3 separate regions of the Homo sapiens genome follow, and regions 1 and 2 are each linked to region 3. Evidence: promoter capture Hi-C in 16 types of primary human blood cells and fetal thymus (Javierre and others, 2016). All regions are on one chromosome and are shown on one strand. Each heading gives the region's core, a stretch centred on a gene start or on the middle of the fragment in contact. The rest is flanking DNA. Distances are from core to core; before and after follow the strand shown. Region 1 overlaps RORC (RAR related orphan receptor C). Region 2 overlaps TDRKH (tudor and KH domain containing). Region 3 holds the start of RFX5 (regulatory factor X5).

What was found. Contacts are between HindIII fragments. The CHiCAGO score rates a contact against its expected background, and 5 or more counts as called.
Region 1: a contact is called between a fragment that was not itself captured here and the fragment with the promoter of RFX5 in region 3, in 2 of 17 cell types (M1 macrophages and M2 macrophages). The highest score is 5.9, in M1 macrophages.
Region 2: a contact is called between a fragment that was not itself captured here and the fragment with the promoter of RFX5 in region 3, in 1 of 17 cell types (M1 macrophages). The highest score is 5.5, in M1 macrophages.

The regions. Positions count from the first base shown.
Region 1 is chr1:151,807,972-151,810,671 of GRCh38, reverse strand. The region is part of intron 10 of RORC (RAR related orphan receptor C); the gene reads left to right. Among named protein-coding and RNA genes, the nearest start is that of LINGO4, 3.9 kb to the right of the region's middle. RefSeq lists an enhancer at 1,326-1,826. The HindIII fragment of the contact is 1,121 bases long and covers 751-1,871 here.
Region 2 is chr1:151,780,502-151,783,201 of GRCh38, reverse strand. TDRKH (tudor and KH domain containing) reads left to right here. Exons shown (of 13, transcript NM_001083965.2): 2 at 153-303; 3 at 1,615-1,721. The coding sequence starts at 180. Among named protein-coding and RNA genes, the nearest start is that of TDRKH, 8.6 kb to the left of the region's middle. The HindIII fragment of the contact is 4,445 bases long and covers 1-2,700 here.
Region 3 is chr1:151,346,002-151,348,701 of GRCh38, reverse strand. It overlaps RFX5 (regulatory factor X5), which reads left to right and starts at 1,450. Exons shown (of 11, transcript NM_001025603.2): 1 at 1,450-1,491; 2 at 2,096-2,213; 3 at 2,369-2,497. The coding sequence starts at 2,382. It overlaps RFX5-AS1 (RFX5 antisense RNA 1), which reads right to left and starts at 1,692. Exons shown (of 2, transcript NR_131972.1): 1 at 1,514-1,692; 2 at 811-1,070. RefSeq lists enhancers at 1,036-1,385, 1,352-1,934, 989-2,188, 2,528-2,617. The HindIII fragment of the contact is 13,633 bases long and covers 1-2,700 here.

The DNA.
Region 1 (2,700 bases), core at 62-2,561, 460 kb before region 3:
TAGACCCAGCTACTTGGGAGGCTGAGGCAGGATAATCGCTTGAAACCGGGAGGCAGATGTTGCAGTGAGCCAAGATTGTGCCATTGCACTCCAGCCTGGGCAACAAGAGCAAACTCTGTCTCAAAAAAAAAAAAAAAATCTCCTTGTAGCTATCAGGAGACTTCAGTGACTTAAATGCAAGATTGAATCCCAGTGCTCTTTGCGCTCTTTCTATCCCTGTGTCCCCTATGTATAACTATAATAAGTGACACCAGGAAAATGTTATGAGAGTATAAAACAGGGATTAAAAATAATTTGGGGGTAAAAGGAGTGGGTCATAAATACTTCCCAGGGAAGATGACATTTATACTAGGCCATGAATGATGTAAGATTTTAACAGGCATTCATGGGGGTGGGGCAGGCATTCCAGGCTTAGGGAACAATAGGAGCAAAACAAAAAAAATGAAAAAAAATCCTTTTCCTGAGGTTTAACCAAAAAAATGGATGAGATGAGTATGAGAGGCTGGGGATAATTGTTTTATGGGATTTGGGTGTGGGACTAGGGTACAATGAAGACCAAGAACAACAGGAGAAAAATAAGGAGGCAAAATAGTGTGTATGTGGAGAATCACTCATGGTACATCCTCACTAAAGTGTAAAATCAGGAGCTGGGATAGACTGGTGGGGCAGAAGAGCACCAGATGATCAGCCTGAAAATTAGGTCAGGGGCAAATCAGAGAGGACTTTCAATGCCATATAAGCGTTAAAGCTTTATTTCTAGGCCACAGGGAGCTCCAAAGGCTAGAAAAATGACACAATCAGAGCTGTCATTTAGGCAATTTACTTTGGAACCAGTATAAAGGAACCATTTATGTAATTATTCAAGCAGGCCTTTGCTATGTGCCAGGCACAGGGCTGGGTGTTAAGGATACAGCAATGACTTACACGGTCTGTGCTCTCAAGAACTTGAACTTTAATCTGCTACAGGATGGATTTGAAGGAGGAGAGACAGGAATCTGGGAGAGCAATTGGAAAGCACATCCGGTTGGATCTGCTTTCAAAATACATCACCTTCCCTACTATTACCACCACCCTGGCCCCTACCAGCTCTCAGCTTTCACTTGGACTTTAAGAGAGGCCTCCTAACTGAGCCCCTGTTCCACCCTCATCTGCCCTGTAGCAACCACACCTACTCCGCACCCACGGTAGCCCTTTTAAAAATGCAATCTCATCATGCCCTACTCCTGTGGTTTTTTTCTTGTTTTTGTTGTTGTTGTTTGTTTGTTCTGTTTGTTTGTTTTGAGGCAGACTTGCTCTGTCGCCCAGGCTGGAGTGCAGTGGTGTGATCTCGGCTCACTGCAACCTCCACCTCCCAGGTTCAAGCGATTGTCCTGCCTCAGCCTCCTGAGTAGCTTGGATTACAGGGATTACACGCCCGGCTAATTTTTGTATTTTTAGTAGAGACAGGGTTTCACCATGTTGGCCAGGCTGGTCTCGAACTCCTGACCTCAGGTGATCTGCCCACCTTGGCCTCCCAAAGTGTTGGGATTACAGGCGTGAACCACCACACCTGGCCTTGACTCCTGTTCTCAGCCCTCCTGTAGCTGCCTGTGATGCCGAGAATCAAATCTAGAGTCTGCGTCATGGTCAAGTGGCTCATAACATGATCCCTGCCTTCTTTTCTCACTTGATCTTCCACTGCCCCTTCAAACACCCATTGCAGCCACACTTGCTTCCTTGCTATTCCTCGAACACATCAAACCCAGTCGCAGGGCTTTTGTACCTGCTATTGTAGTCACCTGGAGGGTTCTTCCCCCAGTTTTCCAAATGGCTTACCCCATCTCTTCATTCGGGAGAGGTTTTTCCTGACCAGTAACCCCATACAAAAAGCTTTAGTTTTCTTTAAAGAACTTATTATCTGATACACTACATATTTATTTTCTGGGCCCCTCACCAGAATGTAAATTTAATCAAGGTACAGATTATACTTTATTGACTGATATATCTGATATATCACTAGAGGCCATCACAGTGCCTAGCTCAGATCCAGATGTGTTCTCAACAAATATTTGTTGAATGAATGAAGGAAGCTATTGCCATAGCCCAAAAAAGCTCAGAATAAAGCAGTGGTGAGGAAGAGAGAGAATCTAGGAGATATGAAGGGATCACACCCTGCTGCCTGCTTTTCTCTGACTGCCTCTTTCCAAGGAAACTAAGCTGGGGGAGGGAGGCAATGGCAGGCAAGAGACATTTTTAAGCCTCTTGGTTGTAGAGGAGACTGCAAGAGATAAATTGTTCTTTCAGCCTTGCTCCAGTGAGGTCTCCCTGCCTCCGTCTGCTCACTGGTTTCTGTGCCTTTTTCATCTCCCCTTTGGCTGAGTGCTGGCAGCATTGGTTTGCTACTTGCAGTGTTAGGTGCCTGCTTAGAAAGTCTGTTTAGTTCAAAGAGTTATTAAGCATGTGCCATGTGCTAAGCATTATGATAGGTACAGAGGAGACAGGGAAAGAGAGACCTCAGCCAAGGAGCTGAAATCTAGGGTGGGAAGGCAGACAAATTGGACCATTTTCCTGCAATGTAGTAAGTGCTACACAGAGGAAAGCCCAAAAGAAGGGCCCTTAATCCAGATGGGAGGCAGTTAGGGAAATAGTCTTAGGAGAGGTGACACTAGAGGGTAAGGATTAGTAATGGGAAGAGGGGAACAACATGCACAAAGGCAGAGG
Region 2 (2,700 bases), core at 54-2,553, 430 kb before region 3:
TATATGAAATAAATTTTGAAATTGCTGAAGCTCTTGAAATTGGAAGGTAGGCAGTAGTAGTCTTTTCAGTAATAATGTGCTCCCATGCCTCTCTGCTATTCATAAAAGGATTGGATGAAACCTCCCTCTTTTCCCTGCTTTGCTTGTTTCAGGATATAAGTCAAAGAGTACAGCAGAAAATGTCTACTGAACGGACTTCTTGGACAAGCCTGTCCACCATTCAGAAAATAGCCCTGGGCCTTGGGATCCCAGCCAGTGCAACAGTTGCCTATATCCTATACCGCAGGTATAGGGAAAGCAGAGGTACGTGAACCCTATGACTGTGTGTGTGAAAATGTTCAGACATGCTCCTGCCTTGTTAAATTGAAAAAAACTCTTTCCTTGCCAGGTATTGTGTGTGTTTTGTTTTGGGGTTTTTTGTGGGGTTTTTTTGAGACAGGGTCTCACTCTGTCACCTAGCCTGGCGTACAGTGGCACAATCTTGGCTCACTGTAGTGTCGACCTCCTGGGCTCAAGCAATCCTCCCACCTCAGCCTCCAAGTAGCTGGGACCACAGGCCTGTATTTTTTGTAGAGATGGGGTTTTCCCATGTTGCCCAGGCTGGTCTTGAACTCCTGAGCTCAAGCAACCCACCTGCCTCGGCCTCCCAAAGTGCTAGGATTACAGGCATGTGCCTCCATGCCTGACCCAGGTATTTTAATTGACTTTCTGTGAGGAATCTTTGACTAAAATTATTTAGTCTTTTTTTTTTCTTTGAGACAGAGTCTCACTCTGTCGCCCACACTGGAGTGCAGTGGAGCAATCTCGGCTCACTGCAACCTCTGCCTCCCGAGTTCAAGCAGTTCTCCTGCCTCAGCCACCCTAGTAGCTGGGATTACAGGCGTGTGCCACCACTCCTGGCTAATGTTTGTATTTTTAGTAGAGACGGGGTTTCACCACCAGGGTGGCTGACCTCAAGTGATCCACCTGCCTCGGCCTCCCAAAGTGCTGAGATTACAGGCATGAGCCACTGCACCTGGCCTAGTCTTTGCTATGTTCTTACATAGCAAAGTAAGCTAGTCTATGAAATGAACTCATTTTATAACTCCATTGATGTGCTTTCTTCAGCAACATCAACACAGCAAAGAGTTCTTTTTTAATTTCTATACTCATCTTTTTTATATATTCCTTTTCTCTAATTAGTTGTTAGTAGAAGGCACTTACCTCAAAGGCTGGATCTAGAGAATAGGACCTAGAGAAATGACTTATGTACCTATCAGTCAGGAGAAGTTCTGAGCCTAATGGACCCCTCAGGTAACTTTTGGCCTTCATTCTTCTCCAGTAGTCATGTCTTGGGAGAAGTAGTTTGCCCAAACCCCAGCACCTGTTTATTGCAGAATCTGCTTTTCCCATTTTAGCATCTGAAACAGTGTCCCAGAGAAAATGCCCATCTCTGATCCTTTGGGACCTTCTAATTCCCATTCAGATGCCACTTTTCCTTGTTGTTATGGTTGAGATCCTCACTTTATCTCTTGGATCAGTGTCTCTTTGACAGCCAGATTCTGGGGAGGACTGGTAGTTATACTAGCTTTGGGTGTTATCTAAGTCTGATCTGATGAACAATGATCTGTGCAGAAGAGCGGCTGACATTTGTTGGGGAAGATGACATTGAGATAGAGATGCGGGTTCCCCAGGAGGCTGTGAAACTCATCATTGGCCGGCAAGGAGCCAATATTAAACAGGTAAGTGTGTGAGTAGGCAGTCTGCTTTCCCAAGGATTGATTCTGTTTATTGATTTCTTGTTTCCTTCCACTGACCCCATATCACAAAACATTCACATGCTCTGTGTGTGTGTGTATGTGTGTGTGTATATATAAAATATATATATATATATTTTTTTTTTTTGAGATGGAGTTTCGCTCTTGTTGTCCAGGCTGGAGTGCAATGGCACGATCTCGGCTCACTGCAACATCCGCCTCCTGGGTTCAAGTGATTCTCCTGCCTCAGCCTCCCGAGTAGCTGGGATTACAGGCACCCGCCACCACGCCCAGCGAATTTTTGGTATTTTTAGTGGAGACGAGGTTTCGTCATGTTGGCCAGGCTGATCTCGAACTCCTGACCTCAGGTGATCCGCCTGCCTCGGCCTCCCAGAGTGCTGGGATTACAGGTGTGAGCCACTGGGCCCAACCACTATGTATATTTTTAAAAGAACAAATAGAGGAACTTTTTAGCTAACTAAACTTTTTAGCTACTTCCCTTCTAGAGAAGAGTACTTCTCCCTAGAGAAAGGATGACTTAGCTTGAAATACGGGTTTTTGACTGGGTGATTGTCAGCATGGTATAACTTGAATTATCCTTTTTTTTTTTTTTTTTGAGACAGAGTCTGGCTCTGTCACCCAGGCTGGAATGCAGTGGCATGATCTTGGCTCACTGCAAGCTCCGCCTCCCATGTTCACATCATTCTCCTGCCTCAGCCTCCCAAGTAGCTGGGACTACAGGTGCCCGCCACCACTCCCAGCTAATTTTTTGTATTTTTTGTAGAGACAGGGTTTCACCATGTTAGCCAGGATGGTCTCGATCTCCTGACCTCGTGATCCAGCCGCCTTGGCTTCCCAAAGTGCTGGGATTAGAGGCGTGAGCCACCGCGCCTGGTCAAATTATCCTTTTCTACTATGGAATTAATGAACTCTCATTAATTGACAGTAAATATTGAATGGCTAC
Region 3 (2,700 bases), core at 201-2,700:
CTGAAGTCAGGAGTTTGAGACCAGCCTGACCAACATGGTGAAACTCCGTCTCTACTAAAAACACAAAAATTATCTGGGCGTGGTGATGCACGTCTGTAAACCCAGTTACTCGGGAGGGTGAGGCAGGAGAATCGCTTGAACCCAGGAGGCGGAGGTTGCAGTGAGCCAAGATCGTGCCATTGCACTCCAGCCTGGGCAACAGAGCGAGACTCCGTCTCAAAGAAAAAAAAAAAAGAAAGAAAGAAAGAAAAAAGAAAACCTCTTGCCAATATATCCTTATTGCCCCAACTCCACAATCTCCTGGGTTCCCCCAGCACTCATAGAAGCTGATAATAGGGAAAGGTAGGCTGTAAAGGGCAATGGTGATGAGCTCAGGCAGCACTACTGTCTTCTTTACAAAAGCACATTAATGATGAGCCTGGAGAACATATTAGATGTCAGGATGGCAAATACAGTTTTGGTTGTAACATGACCGCTGCGCAAAACAAAATACATCCATGTAAGAGGCTTTCAACCTGGAGTCCATGACCTCTCTGAAATTAGATGCAAAACTTGGTCTCTGTGTGCATTTTTCATGGTAGAGGGTCCATTGCTTTTGTCTGATTCATAACCTTAAAATGTCTTAAGTAAGAGGGTTAAGAACCCATGACCTATTCAGTACAATGTTCCCTGAGTGTAAAAAGTTCCTGTGGCATCCAGCACCCCCGTGGGAGTCCATCAAAATTCCAGGGTTCACCGACTGCAGAACTATGGGGATGCAAATGCATTTGCAACTCTTTGGAAGTAAAGTACACACGGGAAACCAAGAAATACTAAGAGGGAAAAAGCATTTTAGTTTAATGGGTACAACTGCTGAGGTTTTGAGGCCTCCATCAAGAAGGAAAAGAGAGCCCAGATTGCAGGTCTGTTGCGAGTAAGTGTGTCTGCAGGTTGTATTAGGCATGTGGTGATGGTGATGGGGGGTTATAGGAGCTTACAGTGAACTTCCATCACTCCTACCCATCATTGTCTAGTTATTTTATCATCCATTGATTCTTCTCTTCCGGCAGCTCTGAGGACCGTAGACTAAACTGAAACACAAAAGGGGAGGGCAAAAGAAAAGACAGTTCCAAAGGGAGCCGAGCGCCCGTTCTTTCATCCTGCGGTCCCTTTAAGAGAAGAACCTCTTGGGACCTGCAGTCCCAACCGACCCCAGTTTTAACCGAAACCCAACCCGGACTTCCCCCTCTTGACTCAAATAAGACCAACTTTGGATTTTCCCTCCCCTATTGACCAATCAGATTCTGTTACCAGGCAGACTTCAGCGGCCGCCGGTACGAGCCCGGCGCCTTCTGTCTCCGGGTGGCAGCAGTGACCAATGACAGAGCAGGCCGCCCGTGTATCTAGGCAGATCGCGGCTGTTACAACCATTCAGAAAAAGGAAAATAAAGCAACGCACGAGCCGGCTGGGCCAGGACCTTGGGGCTGGGCTGGAGTGAAGGTGGCTACGAGGTAGTTTCTCTTTCTCCCTTACCTTTATTGTTGCTTGTGTTGGAAGGCGACTGTTCAGAGGTAGGGAGGGGCAAGATGAGTTGGGAGGAGAGCAGAAAAAGATTGTAGCTGTATTTTCAACAGCTTCTTCACCCATGTGCACGTGCCCGGAATCTGGGACCCCATTCCCCTGCCGGGTTTCTGACGCCCAGCGCATGAGTTCCGCTACCCCGCCCCACCCCCGCTCCACTTTGCAGAAACCGGGGATTGAATGGAGGGGGAAGGGAAGGAGGTGGGGGCGCGCCTCAGGATGGGCTGTTGTGGGAGATGACGTAGGGGCCGGCGACGTGGGGAGGGGGAGCAGCGGGGGAAGTCGTGGCGAGATTAAGTAATGAGAACTTGGGCCCAGTTTTTTTTCCAAGCCTAGAAGGGCAGAATATGTTCGTATCCTTTCTGACCTCCCAGGCATATGCAATGGTGAGGAGTATTTTTGAGAATTAGAGAACTTTGTTTTGTGGCTGTTATTGTTGTTTTTGAGGGGGAGGAGGGCAGTATGGGGTCAGAGGCAGAAATGAAAATTTCTTGCTAACATGGATTCCCAATCCCCCTATCTCTTCCTTTACAGTTTTCCAGATTTAGGAGACTTCAGAAAGGTGGGGCAGATAGAATGGAGATGGCAAAGATCTCTTTGGGCATATATGGGCCTGGCGAAGTAATGGAATAATTTCTAATTTTCGGAGAAGGCAAGTGGTGAGAAAAAGACCACCGGGGAAATTCGGAGGCTTTGTTTCTGTTTCTCTGCCTTTCTGGGTAAAGAGATGAGGAGTGCCCTGGGGCCTTCTGGGGAAGGGAAGGCCAGTGTGAGTTACATCTTTATGCCTGTCCCTCTCAATTCTAGCCCTCATGCCGGGATGGCAGAAGATGAGCCTGATGCTAAGAGCCCCAAGACTGGGGGAAGGGCCCCCCCAGGTGGTGCTGAGGCTGGGGAACCTACCACCCTTCTTCAGAGGCTCCGAGGTACCATTTCGTAAGTACTCATCACATCTCCAAGTCCTGTCCAAGACCTGAGTATAGATCCCTGCAGCACTTCACTTTGGCTGTAGATGAACTGCCTCTCAGCAAGGGCATGGGAGCAGAGGGAGATTTTTGGCCATGGTAGCAATTCTTGAGCACCTGCTGGGCATTTCAGTCCTTTTCCCTCCCTAGCAGTCAGATAAAGAGACAGGGAAA